Linked DNA regions of Homo sapiens: region 1 is linked to region 2. The links are contacts of gene promoters, found by promoter capture Hi-C in blood cells and fetal thymus (Javierre and others, 2016). All regions are on one chromosome and are shown on one strand. Each heading gives the region's core, a stretch centred on a gene start or on the middle of the fragment in contact. The rest is flanking DNA. Distances are from core to core; before and after follow the strand shown.

Region 1 (5,167 bases), core at 44-2,543, about 21 Mb before region 2:
GCCCTCAGGGCCAGCTGAGTTAGAAGGGTGGAGTGACTACAATTATCTCATGCCTCAGTCTCTGTATTCCAGGGCAACTCCTTATCCATCCAGGCCTCTTTTTCAACAGAAACAGACCAGACTCTTAGCCCATATCTGCTCCCTTCTGCAGGGAGTATCAGAGATGCCCTCCCTACCATGGTCTTTCCTCCAAATCTGAGCCCTCCCCTACCTCAGCCCATATGAAAAAACGATGTAGGATTCTTCCTTCTCAATCTGATCCACAGGCCAACTTCTCAAGTGCACAACTTCTAACTCATTTAAAGCTCCAGGCCAGCTACCTTCCCTCACCTTTGGAAATTACGTCCACCTACCCATGTGATGTCGCCCAAAATCCAACCCAGGATCTTCTGTCTGAAACCCGCTCCTTAAGCTGATATCTCTAATTCCATTCTTTCAGATTTTTCAGGCCAAAACAAAACCTATGGAAGACACCATTCACTACCGACTTTCCCTCACAGCTATGTTTGATGCAGCAGGAAATCCTGTTGACCCTATCTCTGAGATCCATCCAGAGTCTCATCACATCTCCCCTCTACTGCAACCCCTCTGGCCCAGCCCTACCATAACTCAAGGGGTCTCCTCAGCGGTCCCCCTGCCCCCGTTCAACATCCTGTTTTCCCCAACTTTAAACTTCTAACTCTGGGCGTGACCCTCCCATTCGTCCTCCCTGCACAGCCCTCTATGGCTCTCTGCGGCTCCACTGCCCTTCCAGGGGAGACTCCGCCTCAACCTCTGCTCCTTGGAGACAAAGACGCTCGGGCTCCCCAGTGCCGCCCGTTCTGCAGTGCCTCCAAGCCCCAGAGACGTGTCGGTCTCCGACGGGAGCTCCCCCGCCTCATCGCACCGCAGTCCCAGTCCCGGGCACCCCACACAAGAACGCCCCTCTCTTAGAGACACAAGGGCCTAACCTGCAGGGCGGCTCCTTGGGACTTCAGCACTGGGAGGAGGGGTTGGGCGGGGCGGCCTGGGACGCTGCACGCACCTCGGTCAGGTTCATCGGCGCGGCCTCCTCCAGTCCACCCAGGGAAGAGCGGGGCGGGAACGGCGGTCACCTGGACGCTGACGGAGGCAGGGGCGCCTGCAGCCGACTCAGCCGATCCGCACTCTAGCCTCTGTGTAGAAGGAACACCGCTTCTCGCGTTTTTCCGCTCTTTCACCTCAGTCCCGACCCAGAGCTCTGGGACCCTCTAAATCAGTGAACAGATCCCTAGGTAGCCATGCTAACGCAACCATGAGGGCGCCGCCAGAAGTCCCGCCCACACAATTGAGACCTCATTAGTCGTCTCTCTGCTAGACCAATGGCTACACTCGCTGCCCTGCCCCCGCAGTGTCTTCTGGGTAATGTAGTTCTCACGTTGCTGCCTGTGTCGCCCGCAGTGTCTTCTGGGTAATGTAGTTCCCACGCTGCTGCCTGCCTCGCCTCACAATGCTGGGCGCGCGGACCTTACGGAAAAAAGCTGGAGGCTCCTGGAGGAGCGTTAAGAAATGCAGTTCCGGGGCTCTTAAGGACGTGGAGGGGCTTTGCTGACTCCTAAACTGCAAGTAACCAGATTTTCCCGGAGAGCAGTCTAGGACAAGTCTGAGAAATATTTCAGAGACCTGTCGTTTCAGATTCTCTGAAGCACAGCAAGTCCCGAAAGGAAGAACATCAGAAGCGACATGGCTGACCATAATGAACTGGTCCTCCATTCATAGCGGTCAGCTCTTTTGTGCTTGTCAAGTACACACATACTGAGGCTCTGGAGACTTTTTTTTGATCGTTAGTGTGCTTCTGTTGGGACAAGAAAGAAAAGACCCACACAGGATGTGATGGAGAGTTGAAGGAGGAATATCTTTCTGTCGACGAAAAGGGTGGAACTTTGTGAAATAGTTGAAGAGATTTATTCTGAGACAAATATGAGTGACTAATGGCCCATGACACGGCTCCAAGATATCCTAAGAACATATGCCCAGGGTGGCCCATCTACAGCTTGGTTTTAACAATTTAGGAAGACGTAAGACATCAATCAATACATGTAAAATGTACATTGGATTCCTCTGGAAAGGCGCAACTGGAAGGGAGGGGCGGGGCTTCCAGGTCAGGTGGGTTCAAAGATTTTCCGATTGGCAATTGGTTGAAAGAGTTTGTATCTAAAGACCTGGAATCAGTAGAAATGGTTGTCTGGGTTAAGGGGTTGTGGGCCGGGCGTGGTATCTCACGCCTGTAATCCCAGCACTTTGGGAGGCCGAGGTGGGCGGATCACCTGAGGTTGGGAGTTCGAGACCAGCCTGACCAACATGTAGAAACCCCATCTCTACTAAAAATACAAAATTAGACGGGCATGGTGGCACATGCCTGTAATGCCAGCTACTCGGGAGGCTGAGGCAGGAGAATCGCTTGAACCCGGGAGGCGGAGGTTACGGTGAGCCGAGATCTCGCCATTGTACTCCAGCCCGTGCAACAAGAGCGAAACTCCGTCTCAAAAACAAAAAAAGACAAGGGGTTGTGAAGACCAAGGTTATATCATGCAGATGAAGCCTCCAGGTAGTCTTATAAGGCCTTATGATAAGGCCTCAGCTCCTGAGCTAAAGCTATCTTCCCACCTCAGCCTCTAGAGCAGCTGGGACTGTAGGTACAGGACACCGTCCCTGGCTTTATTCAGCTTTTTACAATGCACTACAAAAAGTCGGCATTTAGAGCTATTTTTCTCTCACTGCAATTGAGTAGCAGTGAGAGAAAAATTGAGTAGCAATAGTATTGCCATCAGGTGGTGGCAATACTACCTGAAAACCATGCCCCCAACAAATGAAGATTTGGATAATGCCTTATGGTCTCTTCTGCAGGATTAGTGAAGGAAGAACAAAGAAAAGACCAAAAATTAAAACCCATTCTCTTTATATTCAGAAAAGGAAAGGGCTATTTTTTGGCCAAAGCGTTACAATTTAGTTTGCCAACCAGTTTAAAAAAAAAAAAAAAAGGAAAAATTAACTCTGCCCAACTGAAGGTCTGGCAAAAACAAACCTTTGAAAGGGTTGTGGGAAATTAATGAATATTAAACTAATTTTCAACATAACCAGTTAAAAATAAGAAATCCCACTAACGTGGATAGTTCCTTATTTAGGTGTGAGAAATTTGCTATACAAATGGACAACGGCTACACCAAATATAAAAATTGACTCTGACCCATAATCTACACCAACCCATTCAGAAATCTAATGTGGTATCTACAGTAACCACTCCCAAGTCAGAATACTATGTCTAGCAACAAGGCCAGGAAGCCAGACAACATCCCACATAACAACTCGCTTAAAATGGCTAAGACATGACTAAGAACTGACAGCTTTCTAATTGTTGCCCATATGTTCAACTTAGGACCAACTGGAGAAAGTCAGTGCATCACTAGCCAATCACATAGGATGTCAACCTTCTAAATAACCCCTTCACACACACACACACACACACACACACACACACACACACACACTCCTCAAGACTATAGCCTCCAGTCATGGCATACCTAATACTTTACCTTTTATCTACTATGAAGCTTTTTACACCTCTGCTTGCCTTTCAAGCTCTGCTGAGTGCAAGAGATTGTGGATGACTCCTTTACTACGGTGTGGTCTGATTTAATAGGCTATGTTTGTTCTCATTTGGGTCTTCATTTATTTCCAAGTTGTCTGTTTGCAGTCCATGAATGCTACCATTAAGCATACTTCTTACTAATGAAGGTGCAGTGAACAAAGGATTGATATAATTAGATGTGACCATTGTAGAAATTATGTTACAATGTATCATACTTACAGAGGTCCCAGTGAAATAACGTCTAACCTGTTCATCACCATGGGCCATAGTCATCAAACAGGTATAGTAACCACAGAGGTCCTTTATGCTTTGCTCTTCACACCTTGTCAAATCCATGATGACATGTTAAGTTAGCAACAAGTTTGAACACTACTGTCTTTGCACTGGGTTTCTTGGCTATTTAGACTCTGTTTAGTCCCCCCCACCTTTTTTTTTTTTTTTTTTTTTTTAAGACAGAGTCTCACTCTGTTGCCCAGGCTGCAGTGCAATGGCAGGATCTCAGCTCACTGCAACCTCCACCTCCCAGGTTCAAGCAATTCTCCTGCCTCAGCCTCCCGAGTAGCTGGGACTACAGGCTCGTGCCACCACACCTGGCTAATTTTGTATTTTTAGTAGAGACATTGGCCAGGCTGGTTTCGAACTCCTGACCTCAGGTGATCTGCCTGCCTCAGACGCCCAAAGTGCTAGGATTATAGGTGTGAGCCACCGCGCCCCGCCTCCTTTTTTTTTTTAATTGGCTCCCGTGACATTGCCATCCTTGATAGTATCACACCATTTCTTTTCATCTCTTTTTGCTATCTTATATGTAACAGTTTAGTGATGTACTTTCTTAAAGCATTGTCATGAAGAGGATAATAATAGGGTAAAACTCAAGCATAGGCTGGGCGCGGTGGCTCATGCCTGTAATCCCAGCCTTTTGGGAGGCCGAGGCAGGCAGATCACCTGAGGTCCGGAGTTCGAGATCAGCCTGACCAGCATGGAGAAACCCCATCTTTACTAAAAACTCCATCTTTACTAAAAAATACAAAATTGGCCAGGCATGCGCCTATAATCCCAGCTACTCGGGATGCTGAGGCAGGAGAATTGCTTGAATCCAGGAGGCAGAGGTTGCAGTGAGCCAAGATCACGCCATTGCACTTCAGCCTGGGCAACAAGAGTGAAACTCCGTTAAAAAAACAAAAACAAAAAAAACTCAAGCATAGGCTCTAGTGACTTGTTTCAGCTAATATCACAGACCAAGGGTTTTCTGATTCTCAACAGACTGGTGACCATTTGGACAGACTTTGCTTTGGGTCACTGATAAAATGGGATAAGATTCTCTTATCTTCTTTTTCTTTTTTTTTTTTCTTTTTTGTCCAGAGAATTAGGCATTCATTCAGAAAGAGTATTCTCAGATTTTCTGCATGCTGAGGTGTGAAGATTGTCGTGTTCTTGTGGGGAAGTAGCCACCTATCATGCTGTAGAACCAGGCCTAAGGTACATAATCATTACACTCCTCTCAGACAGTGCCAGCACTTATTGGATCGTCTAAATTGAAATCGTCTCCTTTCCAGGAAAGTC
Region 2 (5,767 bases), core at 1,173-3,672:
CTAATTTCATGGAAGCAAATCCCAATATCAGGGAAGGTTAAAGGACAGTGAAGCTCATGTTCATACACCATGAAAAAAAGTTATTTCAGAAAGAGAGGAAACATCATCTCACCTGAGACATGGCTTTGAGATTTCTAGATGAACTTTCTCTTTTGAGCTCCTCTTTTGGAAAAAGAAACAGTCCTGAGAAAGCAAAGATGGAGGATATACGTATGTGAGACCATACTTGACTCAGAACTCCCAGAATTAACTCAGTTAAATCTGCATGAATGTTCACTATTTCAGCACTTGTCCACCCTGTGTACCCTTCAGATGTCCAGGATGGTAGTTAGTGGGAAAACAGACAAATCAGGCTCCCTCACAAACACCAGAAACCCAGTCTCTTGGTAAAGTATACAGGATTCTGGGGAACCTGTTTTAGCTTGAAGAGAGGGAACACTGTGTTTTTCCCTCTGCAGCTCTGCCTTCCATCTACCTCTAACCACAGGTTTACTGTGTATTTCCAAACGGTTCTTCTTGGACTTTTTGCCAATTTACACTGATAGTAGTGGATGAGAATACCTTCCCAAGCCCTGATGAAGACAGTTGACAACTTTTAAATCTTTGCCTATCTGGTCTATGTTGTAGTTGAGAATAATCTTTTTTTTTTTTTTTTTTGAGACAGAGTTTCACTCTTGTTGCCCAGGCTGGAGTGCAATGGTACAATCTTGACTGACCGCAACCTCCACCTCCCGGGTTCAAGCGATTCTCCTGCCTCAGCCTCCTGAGTAGCTGGGATTACAGGCATGCACCACCATGCCCGGCTAATTTTGTATTTTTAGTAGAGATGGGGTTTCTCCATGTTGGTCAGGCTGGTCTCGAATTCTCGATCTCAGGTGATCTGCCCACCTTGGCCTCCCAAAATGCTGGGATTACAGGCATCAGTCACTGCACCAGGCCCGCAAAATAACTATTTTAATTACTACAGTGAGACTGGACTTATTAAAAATCTATCAAATACTTTTTATTATCTTAGCAAGCCTAAGGGAGTAGGAAACCTCACTCATATACAAGTGTTGAAAGTGGTAGTTATGCCAGGCACAGTGGCTCACACCTGTAATCCCAGTACTTTGGCAGGCCGAGGGGGCGGGGGGAGGGGATCACTTGAGGTCAGGAGTTCAAGACCAGCCTGGGCAACATGGTGAAACCCCATCTCTACTAAAAATACAAAAACTAGCCGAGCGTGGTGGCACAAGCCTGTAGTCCCAGCTACTCAGGAAGCTGGGGCAGGAGAATCACTTGAACTTCAGAGGTAGAGGTGGCAGTGAGCAGAGATCATGCCACTACACTCCAGCCTGGGCAAAAGAGCAAGACCTTGTCTTAAAACAAACAAAAAACAACAACAAAAGTGGTAGTTATGGTAAAAAAAAAAAAAAAAAAAAAATTTCCTGCATGTCCCCAATGGAATGCTATTCATTTCAACATACTGGTTTTAGTTAATATGGTGTTTCCAGGAAATGAATCTGGGAATTATGAAAATCATCTCTTCCCCTCTGATACTGTTATCTCTATTTTATTTGCTAAATTGCTACTTAGTTACAGTTTTGGAGGCAGGCTTAATGGCTACTATTCAGATAATCAAGTCTTACATAACCAACTAGCCATGGTCATAACAGAGTTCCTCAATCATTCAAATATTTAGGTCACTAAGGCCACAAAACCACCAGAAGTAACAGTAGGTTACAAACACATGCAGAGTCACAGTCAATCAAACATCCTTCAGAGAACCACCAACCTACAGGCCCCACTTGTCATTCACAACCTCAGACAGCAGCTAACACGACTCCAGGCAGTCACAACCACACCTACAAATCACTTGCAATTCTCCACACTCAAAGGCAGTCTCAAATGCGACTCACACCTAATCTAAAAATAGACACACGCAGAGGAAACCTCGCGCAGCAACACTACTCCGTTCACTTTTCACACACAATCGGCCACAACATCCCAAAGAGAGGCAAGCACCTAAAATGCAGCAGGTTGGGCGCAGGAGGCCACCCCTATTCAGCGCGCGCCCGCGCGCGCGAACACACAGCGCCCGCTCCGCGCGGGGACCCGCCGCCAGCGATGGCGCTTCCGCGGGATCAGAACGGGCAAAATCCCCCTTCGCGGAGCTCGCTCCGGGTCACCCTCAAGGTCACGCCCATGGACCACGCCCGAGGCCCGGCTCGTACAGATCGGAGCGTCTGGATACCGCGGTCCCGGTTTCCTCCTCAGAATTTCCAGGCCCGGCTCGGACTCTTGGTTACCTCCCTGGCCTCCCCACCCGGTTCCGCGTCCTTAGACAGCTCTCCCGGAACGGAGCTCCCAGTGCCCTCCTTGGCCTCCTCAGCACCCCTGGCACCCACCAAGCCTCACCCCCGGCCCAGGGTGAGTCGTCTGCGCCTGCGCACTCGCGCGTGGGCCTGAGCTCCCAGGAGTCTCCGGGGCGGCCCGTTAGTCGCCGCGCGGTGCTAGCTGCCGGCGCTCCCCTCCGTTTGCACCCACGGCCGCCCTATTGCGGCTGGCACTACGCTTCTGCCAGGACCCCGGCTCCCTTTTCCGTTGACCTGGTGTTCGTTTTCCATGTGGTGAGTTGAGGTGACCCGGGTCTGGATGCGAGAAGAGCTCACGGCAGGGGACCTGGGTTCATGGGACGCGGAGAGGGTTTGTGGAGGCAGAAGCCCCAGGCCTGTGTGCAAGTCACCTGCTGGGGAGGGAGACTGTGTGATTGTGTTTGTGTGTGCCGTTCTGTGGCTGCGTCCGTGTGTGGTGGTGTGAGTGGGCGCGCCTGTGATGGTCCCGGGGGGGCGGGGGGTGTGCACAGCAGGGGGTGTGTGTGCACAGCAGGTGCACAGCCCGGGACAGCCCTGACTGTCCCCGATTGGGCCCGCGGGACTGAGTGGGGGCGGGGCCGTTTGTGTGACGGCGCTGAGCGGTGACTATGAATGTGTCATGCTGTTATCAGTGATCCTGTGACAGCGCTGTTGTGACCCACTGGAGACTGTGATCAAAACTGGCCTGGTGCAGCTTTTGTAGAGTTTGATTTCTGCAGTTCTGGGGCTCAGGAATACGTGGACAAGGTCCCCGTATGGCTCGATCTGTGTCTGTGAAGACTCTGAGACCTTCTGTTCTAAAGCATGGCCCCTGTCGCTTTCATAATGCATAATACACAGTGGCATGCAGCCTCGCCAACCTCTGGGGCCAATTTTAAGTTACGTGGTTTCTTGGAGTTTGTTATACTGGGATTTCTTTCACTGCCTCAGTCATTTCACCTTATAACCACGTTGCACAGTGTGCAGTCAAATGGCTATCGAAAAGAAAGTTGGATATTTGAGATCCAGAATGAAGTTTCCAACTGAAAAAGCACAGCCTTGTGTTTCACATGGACAAGGCTGTGTTCTGATATGCACAGCCTCGTGTTTGATATGGAGATGTTAGAGCTGGAATTGCTCCCAAGGCAAGGTTCTGGGAAGATATGATATTGAGGCCCCAGGAGTAGGATTCGTTTCTCCAAAGATTTTGTGTGTGTGTGTGAGATGGAGTTTTGCTCTTGTTGCCCAGGCTGGAGTGCAGTGGCGCAATCTCGGCTCATTGCAACCTCCGCCTTCCGGGTTCAAGCAATTCTCCTGCCTCAGCCTCCCGAGTAGCTGGGATTACAGGCATGCACCACCATGCCCGGCTCATTTTTGTATTTTTAGTAGAGACGGGGTTTCACCATGTTGGTCAGACTGGTCTCGAACTCCTGACCTCAGGTGATCCACCCGCCTCGGCTTCCCAAAGTGCTGGGATTACAGGCGTGAGCCACCGTGCCTAGCCAAAAGATCCCTTTTGGAAGCTCTGTGGGGGCAAGTTGAATATTGCAGATCCACAGCATTTTCATAGCTGTCTAAAGGAAATTATTGTGAATACAGAAACATTTCAGTCCCAGGCTTTGGTGAACCTGACTTTTCTTTATGAAGGGAAGAGTCAACAATATTCCAGTCTTTCTCATACTTCCATCTGGTCATATTCAGCATGGGTTATGGAAGCTTGCCGGTGGTGAAGAATGTGTTCTTATTTAGCCTGTCTGGGCTCCAAGAAAGGCTGAGTATATTGTGATTCCCTTTCTTTCCACATTTTGCTGTATTCCAAGAGAAGAGCTCTGAGAGAAGAAAAGCATTGTAGTTGCACATTTTAAAGCAAAGCTGGAGGTCATTTTGATTTTTTTCTTTGTTTTATGAAATGCATTTTTGTTTTTCAGGATGTGGAATAACTTCATTTGAAATGCTCACCAAATAGTGACTTATCTATTTACCTGGTCTCTAGTCCTTCTCTTCCCAGTTACTGATGACATTATGAAGACAGATCTCCTTCTTTCCAGTACCTCATCAGATGCCCTTCCTAGAGTTAATTTTCATATAACACCTTGACAGTATGTTCACTTCTCCTGTGTGCTCTTTTTGTTTAAGCATTCTCATGACATAGAAATAGTCTGCCTTCACACGGTGATTTGTTACGGAGGAGACCAATTGCTTAGGTAGAATTACACATTAGATAGTTTAGATTTTCTTCAGAGACATGAGTGGAAAAACAGCAAGATAGGAGATCGTTTGAATGGTTATAGTAACTTTTTTTGTTTTAGAGGACCTTAGGAGTTAGAATATTATTGCAGAGTATGTGCAGAGAGAGCTGTTAAGAAGGGCAGGAAGTTTTTCCGAGGGGATACCTTAGGAGATTTATATGGTACCAGCTAGTTCTTGCATGAGGTTTGGCCGCATCACGTGTTTTTTTTTTTTTTTCTTTTGAGACGGAGTTTCACTTTTGTTGCCCAGGCTGGAGTGCAATGGTGCGATCTTGGCTCACTGAAACCTCCGCCTTCTGGGTTCAAGCGATTCTCCTCCCTCAGCCTCCCGAGTAGCTGGGATTACAGGCATGCGCCACCATGCCTGGCTAGTTTTGTATTTTTAGTAGAGACGGGGTTTCTCCATGTTGATCAGGCTGGTCCTGAACTCCCCCCACCTCAGGTGATCCACCTGCCTCAGTCTCACAAAGTGCTGGGATTACAGGCGTGAGCCACCGTGCCCGGCCAGGTGTTTTTTTCTTTTTTTCCCCCAAGTCACATAACTGTGTAGACTGTGTGAGTATGGTATAATGGTCTCTGGGTCTAGAACAGGGGTTTGCAAACTATGGCCCTGTGGGCCAAATCCAGCCTGTAGCCTGTATTTTTGTATGGCTTGTGAACTGATTGGTTTTAACTTTTTGTTAATAGTTGACCACGAAAAAAAAAAAAAGGAGAGTAATATTTCATGACATGTGAAAATTATATGCAATTTAAATTTGTGTCCATAAATAAAGTTTTGGATTTTGGCAATTAAAAATTTGTGGAGGTGGCCAGGCGCGGTGGCTCACACCTGTAATCCCAGCACTTTGGGAGGTCAAGGTGGGTGGATCACAAGGTCGGGAGTTCGACACCAGCCTGACCAACATGGCAAAACACCATCTCTACTAAAAATACAAAAATTAGCTGGGCATGGTGGCATATGCCTGTAATCCCAGCTACTCGGGAGCCTGAGGCAGGAGAATTGCTTGAACCTGGGAGGCGGAGGTTGCAGTGAGCCGAGATCGCGCCACTGCACTCTAGCCTGGGAGACAGTGAGAATCCATCTTAAAAAAAAAAAAAAATTGTAGCGTTCAGGTGCAGTGGCTCACGCCTGTAATCCCAGCACTTTGGGAGACTGAGGAGGGAGGACTGCTTGAAGCCAGGAGT

The links. Contacts are between HindIII fragments. The CHiCAGO score rates a contact against its expected background, and 5 or more counts as called.
Region 1: a contact is called between the fragment with the promoter of ZNF749 here and the fragment with the promoter of ZNF382 in region 2, in 4 of 17 cell types (non-activated CD4 T cells, activated CD4 T cells, total CD4 T cells and 1 more). The highest score is 20.8, in non-activated CD4 T cells.

What each region holds. Positions count from the first base shown.
Region 1 is chr19:57,431,451-57,436,617 of GRCh38, reverse strand. It overlaps ZNF749 (zinc finger protein 749), which reads right to left and starts at 1,293. Exons shown (of 3, transcript NM_001023561.4): 1 at 1,025-1,293. The coding sequence starts at 1,039. RefSeq lists enhancers at 729-778, 1,409-1,708. The HindIII fragment of the contact is 4,352 bases long and covers 1-3,571 here.
Region 2 is chr19:36,601,968-36,607,734 of GRCh38, reverse strand. ZNF382 (zinc finger protein 382) reads right to left here and starts at 2,422. Exons shown (of 5, transcript NM_032825.5): 1 at 2,388-2,422; 2 at 113-183. It also overlaps a transcript of ZNF529 not described here. RefSeq lists enhancers at 1,971-2,030, 3,011-3,150 and a silencer at 2,391-2,450. The HindIII fragment of the contact is 5,073 bases long and covers 1-4,051 here.